Linked DNA regions of Homo sapiens: regions 1, 3 and 4 are each linked to region 2. Evidence: promoter capture Hi-C in 16 types of primary human blood cells and fetal thymus (Javierre and others, 2016). All regions are on one chromosome and are shown on one strand. Each heading gives the region's core, a stretch centred on a gene start or on the middle of the fragment in contact. The rest is flanking DNA. Distances are from core to core; before and after follow the strand shown.

Region 1 (4,837 bases), core at 48-2,547, 420 kb after region 2:
CGTCTTTCTGCAAAGTCACGTGCCCAGCTTCTGCACTCCTGTCTGCAGCTCACTTCCTGCTCATTCCCCAGGTTCTGTTCATGGGGTGTTTGTCCTCTCTTGAGATTATATCACAAAATTCAGTTGGGAGCTGCATTTACCCTGTGAATTCTCCCTCGTTGACCGACTTCCCCAAGGGCTCCTGTGAGATATAGTCAGGAATCACTTCCCTTGGTTCACACTGGAGACTGGGAATGCCTGCAAGCCCCTTCCCACTGTTGCTTCTACTTTTATATTTTATGCCACTTTCTAAATTTGATCCAGCTCTTGGTAGAGTTTAAGGTCTTCTTCCATGGCCTGAATTTTCAGATTCCCCAGTGAGGATGTACTCAGAGGCAGACTCTCCCCTTCTCACACTCTGAGAACTTAGTTTTTCACCTGTCTCATGGAGTAGGCTGCAGCCTGCCATTTGTTTCAAAGGGTCTGTAGATTCTTTTGATTTTTCTATTAAGTTCCTGTGTTGGTTCTTGCTTTAAAAAAAAAAATTCACAGTGTGAATCTCTACACACTATTCTGACCTTCCAAGTGGGAGAGGCAAGCTAACACTGCCTCCAATCTGCCATTTTGAAAAAAATAAAAAATGAAAAAATGAGGGTTTGTATTATGAAGTGACGTTGGATTTTATTGAATGGTTTTTCTGAGTCTATTGAGATGGTCATATGTTTTTTTTTGTTTTTAGTTCCATTGATGTGGTGAATCACATTTATTGACTTGTATATGTTTACCATCCTTGCATCTCAGGAATAAAGCCCATTTGATCATGATGAATTATCTTTTGATCTGCAGCTGAATTTGGTTTGCTAGTATTTTGTTGAGAAGTTTTGCATCTATGTTTATCAGGGATATTGGCCTGTAGTTTTTTTTTTTTTTTTATTGTGTCCTTGTCAGCTTTGGGTATCAAGATGATACTGGTTTCATAGAATGAGTTGGGGAGGCATTCCTTCTCCTCAATTTTCTTGAAGTAGTTTCAGTATGATTGGTACCAGCTCTTTTTTTGTGTATCTGGTAGGATTCAACTGTGAATCCATCTGGTCTAAGGCTTTTGTTGGTTGCTAGGCTTTTTATCACTGATTCAGTTTCATAACTTATTATTGATTTGTTCATGGTTTCAATTTCTTCCTGGTTCAGTCTTGGGATGCTGTGTGTTTACAGGAATTTATCCATTTCCTCTAGATTTTCTAGTTTGTGCACATAGAGATTTTTGCAGTTATCTCTGGGAATCTTTTGTATTTATGTGGCATCAGTTTTATTATTTTGGATTGTGCTTATTTGGATTTTCTCTTTTTTCTTTGTTAATCTAGCTAGCAGTCTATCAATCTTTTTTTTTCAAAGAACCAAATTTCTTTTTGATCCTTTGTATGGTTTTGTTGGTTGCTATTTTGTTCAGTTCTCTGATTTTAGGTATTTCTTTTCTTCTGCTAGATTTTTATTTAGTTATTATATTTCTAGTTCTTTTAGCTGTGGCACTAGGTTGTTAATTTGAGATCTTTCTATCTTCTTGATGTAGGCATTTAGGAGTATAAACTCCATTTAGCACTGTTTTTGCTGCATCTGAGAGGTTTTGGTGTGTTGTGTTTCTATTTGTTTGAAATAATTTTTTTTTGTTTCTGCCTAATTTTGTTTTTTACGCAAAAGTTGTCCAGAAGCAACTCATTTAGTTCCCATGTATTTGTGTGGTTTTGAGAGTTCCTCTTGGTATCGATTTCTAATTTTATTCAACTGTGGTCCAAGAAGATGCTTAGTATGCCTTTGATTTTTTTTTTCAATTTATAGAGACTAGCTTTTTGGCTGAGCATGTGGTCAATCTTAGAGTATGTTCTATGTATAGATGAGCAAACTGTATTCTGTGGATTTTAGGTGGGGTATTCTGTAGATGTCTATTGGTTAAGTATCCAATTTAAGTCCAGAATTTCTTTGTTAGTTTTTTGCCTTGATGATTATCTAATTCTGTCAATGGGGTTTTGAAGTCTCCCACTATTATTGTGTGGCTGTGTGGCTGTTTTCTTAGGTCTAGTTGTAATTGTTTTATAAATCTGGGTGCTTTGTTGTTGGGTGCATATATATTTAGGATAGTTAACTCTTCTTGATGAATTTAACCCTTTATCATTATGTAATGCCCTTCTTTGTCCTTTTTATTGTCTTTGGTTTAACATCTGTTGTATCTGATATAGGAATAGCACCCCCTTCCCCTTTTTTTATTTTTCATTTGCATGATCTTTATCTCTTTACATTGAGCCTATGGGTGTCATTACATGAGACATGAGTCTCTTGAATGCAGTAGAAAGTTGGATCTCATTTTTTTTTTCATCCAATTTGCCACTCTGTATCTTTTAAGTGGAGCATTTAGGCTGTGTAGGTTCAACTTTGATATTGATATATGAGATTTTGTTTCTGTCATAGTGTTGTTAGCTAGTTACTTTGTAGGCTGGAATGGTAGTTGCTGTATAGGGTCTGTGGGTTTTGTACCTTTTTGTGCTTTTGTGTAGCAAGTATTGTTCTTTATTTTCATGTTTAGAGCTCTCGAGCATTTCTTGTCGGGCTAGACTGGTGGTGATGAATTTTCTTAACGTTTGCTTTTCTAGGAAGGATTGTATTTCTCCTATGAAGCTTAACTTAGTGATACATGAAATCTTGGCTGGCATGTTTTTTCTTTAAGAATGCTAAAAATAGGCCCCCAATCTCTTCTGGCTTATAAGGTTTCTGCTGAGAAGTCTGCTGTTTGTCTGGTGGAATTCCTTTTATAGATAATTTAGCCCTTTTTTCTAGCTAGTTTTAAGATTTTTTTTTTCACGTTGATCTTGGATAATCAGAATACTGTGTAACTTTGGGATGTTTGTCTTGTGTATCTTGCAGGTGTTCTCTTAATTTCTTGTAGCTGCATGTCAACCTCTAGCAAGATTGGGGAAATTTTTCTGAATTATACCCTCAAATACGTTTTCTAAATTGCTTACTTTCTGTTTTTTTCTCTCAGAAATGAAAATAAGTCATGGGCTTGGTTGCTTTACATAATCCCATATTTCTTGAAGGTTTTGTTTTTTTAAATTGTTTTTTCTTTGATTTTTGTCTGAGTGGGTTGACTCAAAGACTGGTCTTCAAGCTGTGAAATTCTTTCTTCTAATTGGTCTAGTCTGTTGTTAAGGTTTCCAATGCATTTTGAAATTCCTGTAGTGAAATTTTAAATTCCAGTTCTGTTTGGTTCTTTTTTTAATATAGCTATGTTGTCTTTCATATCTTGATCATTTCTCTGGTGACTTTGTATTGAATTTCAACTTCCATGAGAATCTCATTGTGTTTTCTTGCCATCTGTATTCTTAATTCTATATTGTCATTTCAGACATTTTAGTCTGGTTGGCATCCATTGCTAGAGAGCTAGTGTGATCCTTTGGAGGTGAAGAAACACTGGCTTTTTTTATTGCCAGAGTTCTTGTGCTGATTCCTTTTCATCTGAGAGAGCTGATGTTTCTTTTTTTAAAAATTTACTTTAATTTTAATGGGCTTTTTTGATTTTTTATTCTTCTTTCCCTTGAGGATATGACTGTGCTGTATGTTGTATATGATCATTTCTCTTCATTTCTGCATGCTTTCAGAGGGCCAAGGTTTTGTATGGGTTCCTTGGTTACAGATAGGTTCATGTAGTCATTTTCTGAGATGCTACTTGCAACGATGTATTTTTCTTTGGTTGTGTAATTCAGGCTGCAGTCTGGTAGATGGTGTCTAAGAGTAAGAGCCAGCAGGTAGGCTTTTACTTAGTTCATGCTTGCTCACCCTCTGCGGGGCTGGAGCTGCCATAAAAGCATGAAAAGCTCTCTCTCAGCATGTGCTTGGCTTTCAGTGGGGGTGGGGCTGCCAAAGAAGCACAAAAATCATTCTTTTTCAGTGCACACCCACGAGGCCCCAGTGGGAAAGGCATCTGCCATGTCTGCAACAGTGCACTGGGGAGGGGAACAGGGGGAAAGAGATGATTCTCTCTTCATGTTCATTCCCAGGCTTTGGTGGAACCCCCTGAAGTGGTTGGTGCCACACCTGCATTCCCTTTGTCCCAAGGCGGGGCTTTGGTGTGCTGCCCTCCTCCTTCCCTTAGGTGCAGTTTGTGTTGAAGGTTATATCTCCAGGGGACCCACAACTCCCTGGGGATCCAACAGTCCCTCATGCTTGCCAGAGTCAGAGTGGGTTGTGGGGTATGTCTGCTGGTGGTCTAAGGGTGCAGTGGCTCAAGGGTGGAGAATCTCTCATCAGGGCAGTGGTACCACATGTGCACAGCTAGCATGGCACCTGCCATCTCAGTCTGCATCTGAAGGGGCAGGTTCAGCACATCTGCTCAAGGTGGCCACCTGGTTCTCTGTTCCTGAGAAGATCTCTAATTGCCACCTATTGTGTTTCCCTGGGACACGGGGTCGGGGGGTGGGCCAGAGGCGCTCTCCAGCAGTTTGGCAGTAAGCAGATTATCAGAGGGGGAAGGGGAGGAGGAAAGCACTCTCTCCTACTCTTTCTACTGGACTCTGACCTCCTTGGAGGTCAATGCCAGACAGACTTTTGCTGCTCATTTTCTGTGCGCCCCACTTCTTTGGTTGGGCATTCCAACAAGTCCTGGCTCTCCACCTTCCATTTTGCACTCCAAACTTGACCATTCACTAATAACTTTGATCTTTTTTCTGAGAAGAATTTATGCTGTTCCTAGTTGGCCATCTTTTGGTCTGTTTCAGTTGACTGTTTTTTCCATGGTCATGTCTCCTGGTAGGCCTGATAATTTTTAATTGAATCCCAGATATCACGTATGAAAAATTATAGAGGCTTTGCA
Region 2 (5,013 bases), core at 1,994-4,493:
TCCAGGGACGGGGCCCACAGGGGCCGCTGCCCAGTCCGCTCCACAGCCAGCAAAGGACGAGGTCTAGAAGGCAGTGGATGAGCAGTGAGTGGAGGACCCATGCTTCCCCCATCTCCAGAGACCCCCCTATGCCCCAGACTAGTTTCATGACCTCTGGCTGGCCCATCTCACTATGAGCCTCAGCTTCCCCTCTACCCAGCCATGGGCTCAGTTAGTCCAGTATCTCGTTCCCCACTTGTCATCACAAAAGCCACCTTGATTGTTTCCATGTGGGGATCCTCTTTTGAAAGATTCTTTTCCACTGCCCTGCATTTACTAAACAGTAATTAATTGCTCTCTATTTTATATCAACCAAAAACACAGATCATTCCCTATAGGCATGTCTAATGTTCTCACCACACTGATAGGATTCAGTGCAAAGTAGCTTCATGTTTGTGCCCTCCTGGCTGAAGTGGGCTGATTAAATGGCCCACTGATGAATGGTCCTAGTTGAGATAGATCTACGACAGACAAGTAGATTTATCCTATGATAGATCTGTGTGGGGTCCTCCAGAGAAGCCCCAGGATTATGGTAGGCTGCCTGAGGTCACACGCTACCTCCCCATGGATAGGAGTGTCTCTCAGAGGGACCTAGGTCCACACTGGCCAGGACTTAGAGACTGAAATAATCCCCTACCCATACAAGTCAGCCTATCCTGGCCTCTGCTTCTCCCAGTGGAGGGTCTGGGGTGGACAGTGGCCTCTAAAGGCACTGGCAAGTCTCACCTCCTGTCAGTATGAGCTCCCACCAAGGGCAGGGACCTAATCCACACTCCAGTTCCCACCCTGGCAAGCCAGCCCTACCAGGCTCTACGATCTTGTACAAAGCTTGCTCTTCACTGGGCTTCAGTTTCCCTTTTCCGCAATAAAGGGTCCCACCAACCCATGCACTGAGAGGTTCAGTAACACCATATTCTTGGATGGCTGGGGTTGGGGGAACTGAGCCGACCAAAATCTGAGTAGCAGCTTTCTCCTAGGGGAAGCCCACCCAGCAGGGTGATACTAGGGCTTCCTCCTTGGGAGGGCAGCAGGGACTGGCTCTACTTCCCCAGGAAGACAGCTGCTCCTCCCTCACTCCTTGCAAAATACATCTCCAAGCCTTAGTTCTGGGTCTAGTCCCTGGCTGGGCCTCAGGACACCGCCATAATGAAACCATGGCCTTGCCCTCAAGGAGAACCAGACTGGCTGGGGAAGATGACACTAAGAGTAATTATAATGCAAAGTCATAAAACTGCAGGTGTCACGGGGGAGTCAGGGTCTGCTTGCTCCTGAGCTGTGTCTTCCAGGCCAAAGGAAGGAGCTGGGGGAAGGGACCCCAGGTAGAGAGGACAGCATGGGCAAACAGCGCCAGTATTGCTTGTGAGGCAGGAAGGCGCAGGCAGGAGCTGGTGGCAGGAGCCAGACCTGACTCCTGTGTAGGTTATAGGTGACCCTCTAGGTTCTAACAAATCATGGCCCTATGACCACTCACAGTGAGAAAGGGCCACACAACTCTGGCACACCACAGCCTGACAAAAACTTTTCCACACCTACCCTGGCTGTACTGTGGGATCTTGGAAATCCCTCTTGGAGAGCTGGAGGCCAAATTTTGAGATGACCTGCTTGCTGGGGCCCAGAGCTACCTTCCCAGGAGCATGGTTGGTGGCTAGCCAGTCAGGCTGGAACCTCTGTGGGTGGCCACGTCCAGATAGCTTAGCCGGTCCTCAGATCCCACATGTAGGTGTGGGCACCTTTGGGGCTGATGTGGTAGCTGGGTGTATGAATAGCTGTGTTGATCACCACAAGCTCCTGGTGAGTGTGTACCTGGGCAGGGGTGTGTCCATGGCTGTGTCATCATCATGGTGGGGACAGTGGCTGGTGTGTTCTAGGTACATGTGTGTGCCCGCTTTGGAGCGCAGCAGTCTAAAACTTTGTTCCCTGACACCCAACAGTAGCCCTGAGCTTACAAGGGGGTGCTCACCTAGGGTAAAAAGTGAAAGAGGCTATGGGACCCCGGAATGCAGGGGGAGGCTCCTGGGGTGGAAGGCAGTGGTGGGGCAGGTATTCAGGAGTCCCAGAATGCAGACAGGAGGAAGGAACTTGCTGGAGACAGCAAGGGAGAAGTAGTCTTCCCAGCACCTCCATGTCCTCTTCCTTGGCCTCACCTTCCACCCTCCCTCACTTGGCACCAGGCCAGTTGCGATAAGCACAGCCACCCAGTCCTCCCTGAGTGCAGAACACCCATTTATACCTTCTTCCTCTCTCCTTGGAGCTTCCTGAGCTCCTGTCACATCACCATGGCCAGCATCAGACCCTTTGGTTGAAGGGGTTGCTGAGGTTCAGGACAGAGTGGATGGCCAGGAATGCTCAGCTCAGGTCAAGACTCTGTCTTATCAGCATCCCCTCTCCACTGTCCCTTACCTCAAGTCTGGGAAATTTGAAGATGAGAGGCAGGAGCCAAGGTCCTTCTCACATTGGGATCCCAGACTGGGCTGAGACAGGGTTGTGAGACGATTGTGGGGGTACCCCAAGCAGGACCAGGCCAAACCCAGGGCCTCCCGAGAGTTGCAGACCATCAGGTGCCAGCCTGAGGAAAGGCAAGGATCTGCGGCTGGCTTCCCAAGAAGAGCCTACTTGCTAGCCTGGGGCAGGAGAGGGGACACCAGGACAGAGGGGGCCAGGGGCTGGTCCAAGGTTACTAGCAGGCAGGGCAGCAGGCAGGCTAGCGTAGAGTGCTCTGGGCCCAGAAGAATATCTGGGATTGTTGGCCACATCTTGGGGGACGCCGTGCCGTTAGCATCCATCTGCTCCAATGAGAACCCAGGCTGAGCCCACCCTGTGAGTTCCTCCTTTAGCCGGCCAGCCCCCGGTTTCCCAATCCACAGTGGGAATTGAGGTAAGTGTGTGGGGGCGGGGAGTGGGAGTGTCACAGCCCCACACAGAGCCTTGCTCCTGAGGTCCGTCTGCGCTCAGTCACCTCTGGCCCGTCAAGCCCTCCCAATGCCCGGCAGCTAGCACGAAGCCCCTGTTCTCCCGTGCGCCCCTCGTGGTGGCCGGGAAGGGGGCAGAGAGCCGCGCTTACCCCTGAACGCAGAGGACCATGTCCCCGCGGCAGCGGCGACTCCGGAGTGGGGACTCGGCTGGACGGCGGCGGCTGGAGGGAACCAGTGGGCGCGGAGCGCGTGCTGGGTAGGCTCCCGGGGCGCGCGGGCGCAGGACAGGGACTGAGAGGCAGTGGCGCGGACCGCCTGCGAGGGCGAGGGGGGCGGGCCAGACGAGCGGGGCGGGGCGAGCTGCTGCCTAATCCTTTGTCTGCCGCGTTCCAGCCCTTCCCGGAAGCAGCGTCTTCCTAGAACCGCGGGCTGAGCGGTGGGGCCCGGGCGGGGTGCGCGGGCCCCGTCGCCGGGTCTGGGGCCCTGAGCAGTGAAAGGAAATACTTTGACAGATTTCCAAGAACTTTCCAGGAAAACGGGGCGGGGCCCCGCGAGCTGACCAATCGCGACGCTGAAGGTGGAGCCGAGCGGTCGGGGAGGGCCAATAGCAGCGCGTGGACCCGGGGCTGAAGCTACCCAGAGGGGCAGGTCGGAGAGATCAGTGGGGAAAGACCGGGTCGGGGAAGTTAAGGAGGGGCCCGGGCTCAGCAACCCGCGCCCAGATTGCCTTCTGGCATTCTGCGTCGTTGGGGAAGGGCCCTCTTATCTCGCGGTGGAACTCGTGGCAGGGCGGGGGGCGGAGTCCCGGGCTTGTCCTCCCTGCGAGCGGCTCCTCCAAGGAGGTCTGTCGGCGTGTGCAAGCGCCCCGTGTTGGGACGGCCGCTCCTGGACCCTAGGACTCTGTGTGTCGGGTGTCGGATTGGGTGGCATGGGGTGAGATCTGGAGCGGGACTTAGGGCAGGGCGGGGTGCAGAGGACAGTTCCAGAAATGAGTGGGTCCACTGAGGTCAAGCCGGCGGTCACCACAGCCAGAAAGATCCAGACAAGAACGTTTTCTTTGAAAGAGTTGAAGGAGAAAGCACGCCCCAACTTTTCGAATCAGGCAGACCATCCAGTCTTGGCTGGCACTGGTTTCTGGCCGGCCCTGCCAGTCAGGGGAGAAGAGACTACAGATTTGAGAAAGCAAGCAGAGACAGCCCCAGATGGCCCGGACTCTGGGTTGGTACCACCCCCACCCCCCGCCAGAAAAAAAATGCTGAGAGAGAGTCCTGCAACTCAAAACATAGGGAGATAATCTGGGAGTAGGGTGATAGAGGTTGGGGCGGGATGGCGGGGGCAGAGTAGTAACACTCGCTCTTATCTACAGGGAGTACTTGCTGCATTTGATCCTCTACAACTGGTGTTGCTCCCGTTATGCGGACAGAAGACAGCCCCAGGGAACAAATGCTAGGAAATGGCAGGGTAAGAGCTTGGTCCCAGCTCTGAATCAGAAGCCCACGCTCCTACCAGGACCCTCTCCACCTTTTTTCAGTTCACTGGATTCACTATGGAGCATCTTGAAGGACTGTAGGGTCTGTGAATCTCCTCCAAACCCTTGGGCCAGAAGAACTGTGGGATTTGGAGAGGTTGCAGGGTCCACTCCCCACCCCCATCCCCCTCCCAGTGTGTGCCCCCAGGGTCCCCAGAAAGGAGTCTAGCTCTGAGATCCTGGGCAGGGATGACAGACCCCTGGCCTTGTTGAAGGGCCTGAACGATAGCATCCAGGGAAGACAGGGCTCAGTTTGCTCTGCCCAGAATGGCAGAGGGCAAAAGAAACCTGAAAGCAAAACCCTGTGAAACTGGGGAAAAAACGTTAAGTTTCAGATTTCAGGGCAGTCACTTCTCTGTAGCTTTCCTGAAGGGAAGCCGGGCTTCATGAGTGCAACTCTGCCAGCCCCCTCCTGAGTTGGCCAGAAGCCACTTTCTTGGAATGGGGGTAGGGGGGATGGATACCTTATAACCCACTTTGAGGGCTGGGATACCTGGATAGCCTGATATGCGGCCCCTGTGTGGACCACTGACT
Region 3 (4,788 bases), core at 1,352-3,851, 490 kb after region 2:
GTATTTTTATTAGAAATGGGGTTTCACCATGTTTGCCAGGCTAATCTTGAACTCCTGACCTCGTGATCTGCCTGCCTTGGCCTCCCAAAATGTTGGGATTACAGGTGTGAGCCACTGTGCCTGGCCCAAAGTCCCATTCTTACTCTCTTGGAGTTTTTTCAGCATTCAGGATACCTTGCATAAACTAAACTTTTTCTTGAAAATCAGTTGCTTCTATAATTGAAATAGAGGGCTCTCCCTGAGAGTCAAGCATTCTACCCAAATGAGATAATCTGCCTCTGTGAAAATCTTAGGGGACCCTGGAGATAAATTTTATTTTAAAATGATGGGCGAGCACTTTTTTATTAAAGCAAACAATTTTGTTTCCCTCTGCAAAAGAGGTTATGTATGTAATGCAGCTAGAGCTTATCTGCAGGATTTAGGCAGTCCACTAATAGACCTGCAATTTAGTCTTGGTCCTTCGACCCTAGGCCCCATCGTATAGTCTAGCCTGTCTTAACTTGGTCCAGGACATAGACTCCAGCTCACTAACCAACATTTTCGCAAAGATTTTCTGTGAGTTCCAGCAGAAATAAGAGAGGAGCTGGTACCTTGTCTCTGGTAACTGTTAACATCACTTTCTTTTTCTACCCTGCTCTCTGGTCTGTCATTGTCAGTATACTTAAATTCCCTAAAAATTACGAGGGGCTAGAGAAATTAATAGTATTCTCTCTTTTTCTTTCTCTTTCTCACACATCCACAAAGAAAGCTAATGATTTCTGTGCCCTATGGATGAGGAGGCCAACAAATGGATGTTTAAGTGAAACTTTATAATCCTGTTGCCCTGCTAAGTTTTTCATCAGTATATTTTGTTGCATAACTCAAAACTGAAAATATAGACAGAATGAATTCAAATAGGGTTTAAAGCTAAATATATTTCATACTAGTGGTCAGACTGTCTTGACATGCTTCTACATATATGCCCAACACATCAGCTCTTACTCGGAAGCATTAAAGTGAAAGTCTTTTGAGAGATAGACACAGTGAAACTTTTACTTTAGATATATACTTTGGCCTGTGGTTAAACCTGCCTTTTTCATCTGAAAATAAGATCAGAAACTGCTGTTCTGTATATGCCATCCTTCATTATGTTCTGAGTCTAACTGTTAGGCTGTGGAAAATTTTTAATGTATCATCCTACAGAGTCTGGATAACAACAGTGAAAGAAAAGATCAGGTTCTTTAGAAAGTTTCACATTGTTTACAAGAAATTTGACTTCTTCTCTGCCTAAAAATACGTAGGACAAAGTAGAGCAGAATGACTGATGCGTCTCACATATCAAAAAAATCCTCTGTGAGGAGAGGAATGTGGAGAATTAAGTGAGATCAGAGGTAGAAGTTACAGTGTTTGGTAAAGTCATTTATTTATGCACCAAATGTTTATTTTTACACCTGCTATGTGCTTGTGCTGTTATAGGCTCTAGTAATATGGCAGTGGATAAAACACACAAAAATCCATGTTCTCATGAAGCTTACATAGTAGGGACAGACAGTAAATAGAAATAAGTAAATTGTATCATATTTGAAGGGATAAGTGTTATGGAATAGAAAAAGTAAAGCATAAGGGAGATTTGCTGTGCTAAATAAGATTGTCAGGGTAGGCCTTACTGAGAAGGTACACCTACTGTGGGGCTACCTTCCAGGGAAGAGACTTAATTTGTCCCATCCTCTCATCCTTTGATCTCTAAATGATTTCTAAATTAATGAGGTGGAGCCAAGGGATCAAATTACTGGCAGCCATGTCACCCTTATTTACTTAAGGATAAATAAAAAAAACTAGATAAAGAAAGAAAGAAAGCCTTTACAGTGACCAGATGACAGACGATGGTGGCTTGGATTCTGGCTATCTTCTAAAGGTAAAGCTGTGCTTATTTTGTTTCTGGTATGGTGGAGTAAGCCCCTGACAGTCTGGCCCTCCTACAGTTAACACTGAGCAAAATCCAAAAACTACCTGACGGTGCTGCCAAATGAATAAAGCAGGCAGATATTGTAAGGCAGTAAAAAGTTGGAGAAAAAGATCAACATGAGGTGAATTTTCTGTTTTTTGTGGTTTTGATCTGAAAGTGAGCTGTAGTCCTAGCATAGTATAGAGTGTCTGAAACTCCATTAGAAAGCCTGCCATATTTTTAGCCTGAGGAACCAAGAGATGGAACCTGGGGCAAGTATGGCCACCAGAGGGAGTTCTGGAGAGAAGAGAGCAGGAAATGGGAATCTCAAATTCTATGTATGAGCTCTACCCATGTCACTGGCTCACCTCTGAACCATGCGTATCCAAGGCAGACGCAAAGCAGCTAGCAACAAAGGCTAAAAGAAAACTGTGATTTGACCCACCACAGGAGAAATGGAGATTATAGATTAAGTCTAATCAAGTTAATTCACCATTAAAACAAAAATACTAATTCTCTTCAGAATATAGCAGAATTCAGATTCTCTACAATGTAACATTTACAAGGTCCAGGATAAAATCCAAAGTTATGGGATAACCAGAAAAATTAGTTACTTCAACAAAGCAATAGCTAAATTTAATTTATCTTTTTTTTTTTTTTGAGATAGGATCTTGCCCTGTTGCTCAGGCTGGAGTACAATGGCACAATCATGGCTCACTGCAGCCTCAGTTTCCTGGGCTCAAGTGATTCTCCTGCCTCAGCCTGCTGAATAGCTTGGACTACAGGTGCACGCCACCACGCCTGGCTAATTAAAAAAAAATTTTTTTTTTTTTGTAGAGATGACATCTTGCTATGTTGCCCAGACTGATCTCGAACTCTTGGCCTCAAGCGATTCTCCCACCTCTGCCTCCCAAAATGCTGGGATTATGGGCATGAGCTACCATGCTCGGCTTAGTCTTTCTTTTTTTTTTTTTTTTTTGAGACGGAGTCTCACTCTGTCGCCCAGGCCGGACTGCGGACTGCAGTGGCGCAATCTCGGCTCACTGCAAGCTCCGCTTCCCGGGTTCACGCCATTCTCCTGCCTCAGCCTCCCGAGTAGCTGGGACTACAGGCGCCCGCCACCGCGCCCGGCTAATTTTTTGTATTTTTAGTAGAGACAGGGTTTCACCTTGTTAGCCAGGATGGTCTCGATCTCCTGACCTCATGATCCACCTGCCTCGGCCTCCCAAAGTTCTGGGATTACAGGCGTGAGCCACCGCGCCCGGCCTCGGCTTAGTCTTTCTTAGAAAATTGCAAGGCGGTAGAGATCATCAGGATGCTGAAAAGGAAAATAGATAACTTGTGGTAGAATGATACTCCATTGTGAACAAAGTGGTGGTAAACTTTTGAAGATGTTTTTCAACTTACAGTGAAAACTAGAAAATAGCCATAATATGTACACACTAATTCCTCCCTCTGTTCCTTTTCCTTAGAATATTACTAATGTAAGCAAAAATGTTACAGAGCCTGCTATGAGCTGGTAACATTTATCAAATGAACAAATGACTTATTATAAACTCTCAAGATGGAGTTCCAGCATTAAATCTATAGTTGCAAAAAAGGCTTCGTGTAGAATCCAGCTGAATTCAGATTAAGGCATTCTAGGCTTTCTCCCATTTCTACTCCTGCCTCAAAGCCAGGCTCACAGAAAGCATGATTTAAACAGACAGTCACTTCCCCTCTGATCCCAGCATCCACTTGGCTAAATCTCACATTTGCAAAGTACCACTAAAGCTTTTCCAGAGTTGGGGATAAAGGAAAATATGAAGGAATCAAAGAAAATACAAGCTTGAAGTTTGTTACCTTTCTTGAACTTCTTTTAAAAAGTTTTGTTGTCATTAAAATATATTTAGCTGGGGAAATTTTAACTAATTTGTGTTTATCTGAAAACGTGGTACTTGGAGAAACAGCTCAACTGTAAGGCCTGTGGCTGGTGTCTTTGGAGTTACAATCATTGAGGGTCTCTGGACACAGACTTCTAGTGACCGGAGGTGTTTCTGTCAGAGCCAGAGCATTTATTCATAAACTGAGGATTATTTTCTCTACTTTTACATTTACAAAGCAATGTAAAATATCTGCCTGGCTGTAGATCAGGATTTATTAAAGATCATCTCAAGACAGAGCAAGATTTTAAAAACTGGATATTTTAATCTTCACATGGAAGTGAAGAACACAAGGTACTGGATTCTGTCAGCAAATCAATCAGTATGTCAGGATTTGTATTTTGAGGAATGTGCTAAATGGTGTTTAAAAACAAAGTCTGGATCAGTATATCAGGGTTTATATTTTGAGGAATGTGCTAAATGATGTTTAAAAACAAAGTCTGGAGACTCATGAGAGAGAATGGAAAATTGAGTGACATATATGTATACTTGCTGTCCATGGAGTAAGCTGTGTGGCTGTTGTTAGGGTAACTAGAAATCAGCTACAAAAGAACAGAAGAAATAGTGTTGTAGAAATAGCACAAACAAAAGGAAGCCCTGAGACGAGATGGCTCCTTTGCAGTGCATGGGAACCAGGAGTCCAATAATTATGACTCATTAGAAAAGGTTAAATGGTATGAGAGAAAAATAGAAATTTAGAATTTCAAATATAAAATATATACAATTATGAGTTTTTAAAAATCAGTTCTTGGTTAGAAAAGGGAAAATATTTTGTTGATGTGTAAACTTCTAATGGCATCTAGAGATATGGCTGCTGGTTTCTGAGAAGGAATGCTCCAAATATGTTTCCCTCTGAGCACATTTAGAACAGAGACTCCCTTGGAAATAGATTCTGCCAGTTGTTTACCTTGAACTCAATTGTCATTAAAACTACTATTCCCC
Region 4 (4,544 bases), core at 1,807-4,306, 260 kb before region 2:
CCCTGCCCTGAACCCACCCTGACTGCCCGCCTGCCTCCACCTGTCTTGCAGCAGATCTCGTCATAGCTGTGGCAGCCTGTATAAAGCCGGGCAGGGTGGCTCTGCTCTTCCCGAGTCACCCGCACAGGATACTTCTGTAGTCGCCTGATGAGGTTCTTCATAAGCCCGAACTGGATCAGCTTCCTAGGGTGAGGATCAGAGGACGGGGTGACGCCCTGGCCAGGCCTTCTTTCAGGCAGGCCAACCCTTTCCTGTAGTCTCCCTTCAATTTTGTCTCTGTAGCCCATCATCTCCAGGAAGCCTGCTTGGATTGGCAGTGCCCCATGATCCAGGGCTCCTGAGAGACATAAAGGGTCTAGCTTCCCTCAGGTAACTCCCAAATGCCCCAGCAAATTCTCCTCTGACCGTTCATCAACATGCTGCAGCTGCTGGGGGTGGCGGCCAATGAGGTCTCGCACGGTAGTGCCAGGGCTCAGGCTGCAGTATAGCTGGAACACATCCCGGAGACTGGCCCTCTTGTGCCCTGTGGGTGCCAGGGATCAGCTCATCATGTGGCCCTGCCCTCCCCAAGATGGCTTCCCCCAGAACCCACCACTACCTTGCTTGGTCACGTAGGATAGACATGCCTCTTGCAGGGACTTGTCATCTACCAGGTCCTGGACCTTGGGCGTTGGGCAGTATACATTGGAGTACTAGAGGGTAGCAGAAGGCATAGGGGCCTGAGTGAGGGGCTTGGGAAGCTGACACAGCCCTGGTCTGGTCCAGCCACATGATCCACTCTCCACTTAACCAAACCCAACTCACCTACCTGGAGGATGGACACCAGTGTCACAACGCCGTAGTACCTGAGAGAGAGAGCTGTGCTCAGCTTCTGAGGACCATGCCTTCCCAACCCTCACACCCAGGGCCCCTGAGGTCTTCCCTGGCTGGTGACCTTGTCCCAGGTATGACTGTAGGCCCACTCACAGCAGGTTCTGGATAGCAATGCGCACCAGGTTGAGCTCCACATCTGCCTCTGCTGAAATCTTCTGGATGTGGCGGAACCCATCAATGTAGGGCAGGATCTGGGCAGAGTGGGACAAGGTCAGAAGAAACAGGATGAGGCCAGGGCTGTGGCCAGCCCCAGGTGATGATACCCAGGGAGGGATGGCATACTTGTTGTGTAGTGAGGTCCCACTGTGAGTTGAAGAAATCCTCCTTGTCTTTGGTAAAGACAGGTACATCATACTCCTGGGCCACCGGAGGGTCTGGCCGCTGCTCAATCACCTTCAAGTGGATGGTGTTGGACTCATCTGCAGGGGGCCCCATCCATATCCTCAGTGCCACTTCTTCCAAGAGGTCCTCAATTACCATCCAGGCCTCCCAGCATCCCTTGGGGCAAGCAGGTGCCTCTGGGTAGGGCTAATCTTTCTCTTTTTATGGAGTGAGAAACGGAGGCCCACAAAGGGGAAGGAATTGCCCAAGGGGCAGAGCTGGAGAGCTCTGCTTTCCCCCTACCCCCAGTCCCAGCTCCATCATGCATTGGACCCTGGACATGGGCACCTCAGCCCATGGCTATTTCCTGCCCACCAATGTGTTCATGAGTCTTGCCCTTCTCCCTGACTAGCTGGGTTCACTTTCCCATCTCTCCTCTACCCCTCTGCTGTCCTTGCAGAGGCTGGCCATACCAATGGGCAGAGTGCACCGGCCTGAGGCATTTAGCTCCTCCAGCAAGATGGTCATGATGGGCACCAACTTCTGCTTGCTCTCCTCCATGGACACGAAGCTGCTCTCTAGCTAGACAGAGCATGGAAAGCATGGTGGGCACATCCCAGGACCCCTGGCTGGTTGGCTGCCCTGAGTCCTGAGCTGGTTTGCAGGGTCCCAGGTTTGGGGGACTTTGGAGACATGGGAACACCTTCCCCAACTCTGCCTGTCGGTAAACCCAAGCCCATCTCATTGCAGACCTCTAGTGTGGTCAGATAGCCAGCCAGCTTTTTAACAATGGGCTCGAGGGCGCAGGTCTTGGCCTGGGCATCACACACGAAGCCCAGGTTGAAGAGGAGAGCATTGCGGCTGTACTTCTTGTGTTCGATGCACACAGGACAGCCGATCAGCTTCTTTTCCATAGCTGTGCTGGATAATTGGAACACAGTCAGGCCCCCAAGCCTGTCCCTTCCTCCTCCTGGGACAACCCCTGCCACCCACCGCTCACCCCGAGCTAGGGTCTCACACAGTGATAAGCTTGTTCTGCAGCTCTGGCTTGGTGATGATGTACACTTGGACTGTGTCAAACAGCTCTCGGGAGATGAAGTCTTCAGGGACCTGGGGAGGGGAGTGGCAATGGGCCCCTCAGTGGACATCTGTACTGGGTGTAGTACAAATGGTGACCTCCTCATGCCCCCCAAGCCCAAGTCCTCTTCTCCAGCGTTCCCCTCTCTCCCATCCACTCAGGCCTATTACTTCTTTCTGTTTCCAAACATACGCTATGATCTCACCTCCTTCCTGGCTTCTGCATATGCTGTTCCCTCTACCTGGAACACTTTCTCCTGCCTTACCTAAACTTCCTATGCATCATTTACTCTTCACTCAGTTCAGGGATACTCATGGGTCACCCAACTCACCTTCTGTGGGACCTGGAACCCCCCAACCGGATCCCTACAGCCCGATATCCTACAAACACTGCCAATGTGACGTATGTCTTCCCTGCCACATTGGGAGCCGGGGGCCTGGGTCTGACTATCCTCTAGCCTCACAGTTGTCTGCGAATGAAGCAGCATGCCTGCGTGCAGCACGGGAAACTACTGCCTTCAGGCAGCCAGTTGAGCTCTCGAGAACGTCCCTCTTCCCGCCCAGTCCCGCGAGCCCGGGTGGCACCTGATAGGTGATCTTGGGTCCCAGCGTGGGGTGGAACTCGCTGAAGAATATGCATTCGATGCGGCAGCCGCTGCCCATGGCAATAACCGGGCCCAGGCCCGTAGCTCCTCGTTCCTCGCGCAGAGGCGTCCCCACCTCCTGTGAACACTTGTCAGAGACAGCCTCGAGGCCTGTGTCGCTGGGGCACGCAAGCTTGCCAATCCCTCTGCCCAATGGCGCCTGCGCAGCGCGACTCAGAGGCGTGGCTGGGGCGGGGGACGGCTCGTCCCAGGAAGTCCTGGGTGGGTAGACGTCGCACCCGGAAGTAAAGCGGCTCCGTGACGGAGCGGCGGTGCGCGCGGCAGGGCCCGGAGTATCCCGCTTTCTTTGGAGGAAACCACCGCATCAGATCTGCGCTGCGGCAGAGGCAGGCAAGTCCCTAGCGTGGAGGGGCAGCATGCTGGCAGCACTTGGGGAGGCGGTGCGCTAAGGGATTCACGCTGTAACTGGGACCGCAGCAGGGAACTACAATTTCCATAGTGCTCCGCGCCCTCCCAGCTGGCTCTACTGCCGGCGACGGCGTGGTACACGCTGGGATTTGTAGTCTTACATGGCTTTGCGCCTCCTACCTGGAAGGCGGGCCAGCGATTGGTACCAGTTCAGACATGGGTACACGTTGACAGGCCGCCGGCCGTCGACTGGCATGTTGTGACCATTCCTGGTGCTGGTCTTGGTACTGTTCTTTCCTACCATAACTTATTGGAAGAGGGTGGCATTCCTGCCTTGCAGCCTTTTCTCCAGTGAGGAGTGAACAGTGGGCACCTGAGATCCTGGCCCACGCTACTATGCTTTCAGGCTACAACCACTAGCACGGCTGACGATGGCCCTTTCTGCGGAGACCGAGTCACACATCTACCGAGCTCTGCGTACTGCTTCTGGCGCTGCCGCCCACCTTGTGGCCCTGGGCTTTACCATCTTTGTGGCTGTGCTTGCCAGGCCTGGCTCCAGTAAGTAGAATTCATAGCTGACTTCTGGGAAGGGAAGGGCCACTGTTCCTGGGGAGGAAGGGCAGTGGGACTTCCGGGAACAGGCCTGGCTGGTTGAGGGAATTCTGTGCTGGAGCGATGAGTGAGGTGGAGCAGGTAGGTATGGCCAGGGCACACAGAATTCCTGGTTTGTCTTTCCTTCTCTGGGTGCTCCATTTGGCTGCCTCTCAGGAGGTGTAAGGGAAGGAGGGAGGACTGCCAGAGGAGTGGCAAAGCATGGCCTCTGATCCAGGAAGAGGCCAGGAAGAGAGGATAGGTGTGGGGTCAGCTTGTTGCAGAGCAAGAAGGGGCTCACAGTTTGGCAGCACCTCCTTGGGTGATGGGCTGCTGGTATTCCTCAACCCTTAAGGATTGGTATGGCTGGTTTCTTCTTGCCTCAGCCCCATGAGGCCTCCTCTTCTCATTCCAGGCCTGTTCTCCTGGCACCCGGTGCTTATGTCTTTGGCTGTAAGTAGTGGGCCTGGGCAGTTCTTAGGGGTGGGAGCATGGGCATGGTTGGTGGCCCTGGCAGCCTCTGAATCTTTGTCCACATTTAATATCTGTTTGGAAGAGTTGCATGCTCCAACTACTCCTGCCCATGGTATATATTTCAGACTTGAGGCTGGGCACGGTGGCTCATGCCTGTAATCCCAGCACTTAGAGGCCGAGGCGGGCACATCACCT

What was found. Contacts are between HindIII fragments. The CHiCAGO score rates a contact against its expected background, and 5 or more counts as called.
Region 1: a fragment that was not itself captured here is called in contact with the fragment with the promoter of CISH in region 2 in 3 of 17 cell types (naive CD4 T cells, activated CD4 T cells and total CD8 T cells); the score reaches 6.2 in naive CD4 T cells.
Region 3: a fragment that was not itself captured here is called in contact with the fragment with the promoter of CISH in region 2 in 4 of 17 cell types (endothelial precursors, monocytes, M2 macrophages and 1 more); the score reaches 9.2 in endothelial precursors.
Region 4: a contact is called between the fragment with the promoter of NPRL2 here and the fragment with the promoter of CISH in region 2, in 10 of 17 cell types (erythroblasts, endothelial precursors, megakaryocytes and 7 more). The highest score is 14.5, in erythroblasts.

Annotation. Positions count from the first base shown.
Region 1 is chr3:51,025,539-51,030,375 of GRCh38, forward strand. The region is part of intron 5 of DOCK3 (dedicator of cytokinesis 3); the gene reads left to right. Among named protein-coding and RNA genes, the nearest start is that of MIR4787, 350 kb to the left of the region's middle. The HindIII fragment of the contact is 2,693 bases long and covers 1-2,644 here.
Region 2 is chr3:50,608,531-50,613,543 of GRCh38, forward strand. CISH (cytokine inducible SH2 containing protein) reads right to left here and starts at 3,244. Exons shown (of 3, transcript NM_145071.4): 1 at 3,101-3,244; 2 at 1-63. The coding sequence starts at 3,120. It also overlaps a transcript of MAPKAPK3 not described here. RefSeq lists enhancers at 2,203-2,763, 3,673-3,762 and a silencer at 3,113-3,592. The HindIII fragment of the contact is 4,554 bases long and covers 866-5,013 here.
Region 3 is chr3:51,098,229-51,103,016 of GRCh38, forward strand. The region is part of intron 9 of DOCK3 (dedicator of cytokinesis 3); the gene reads left to right. Among named protein-coding and RNA genes, the nearest start is that of MANF, 280 kb to the right of the region's middle. The HindIII fragment of the contact is 2,188 bases long and covers 1,508-3,695 here.
Region 4 is chr3:50,347,719-50,352,262 of GRCh38, forward strand. It overlaps NPRL2 (NPR2 like, GATOR1 complex subunit), which reads right to left and starts at 3,057. Exons shown (of 11, transcript NM_006545.5): 1 at 2,857-3,057; 2 at 2,213-2,304; 3 at 1,947-2,115; 4 at 1,668-1,776; 5 at 1,156-1,292; 6 at 967-1,064; 7 at 809-845; 8 at 599-692; 9 at 406-523; 10 at 41-183. The coding sequence starts at 2,934. CYB561D2 (cytochrome b561 family member D2) reads left to right here and starts at 3,144. Exons shown (of 4, transcript NM_001291284.2): 1 at 3,144-3,266; 2 at 3,691-3,842; 3 at 4,291-4,328. The coding sequence starts at 3,716. It overlaps LOC127898564 (CYB561D2-LOC101928965), which reads left to right and starts at 3,144. Exons shown (of 5, transcript NR_183066.1): 1 at 3,144-3,266; 2 at 3,691-3,842. RefSeq lists an enhancer at 3,099-3,318. The HindIII fragment of the contact is 2,178 bases long and covers 3,047-4,544 here.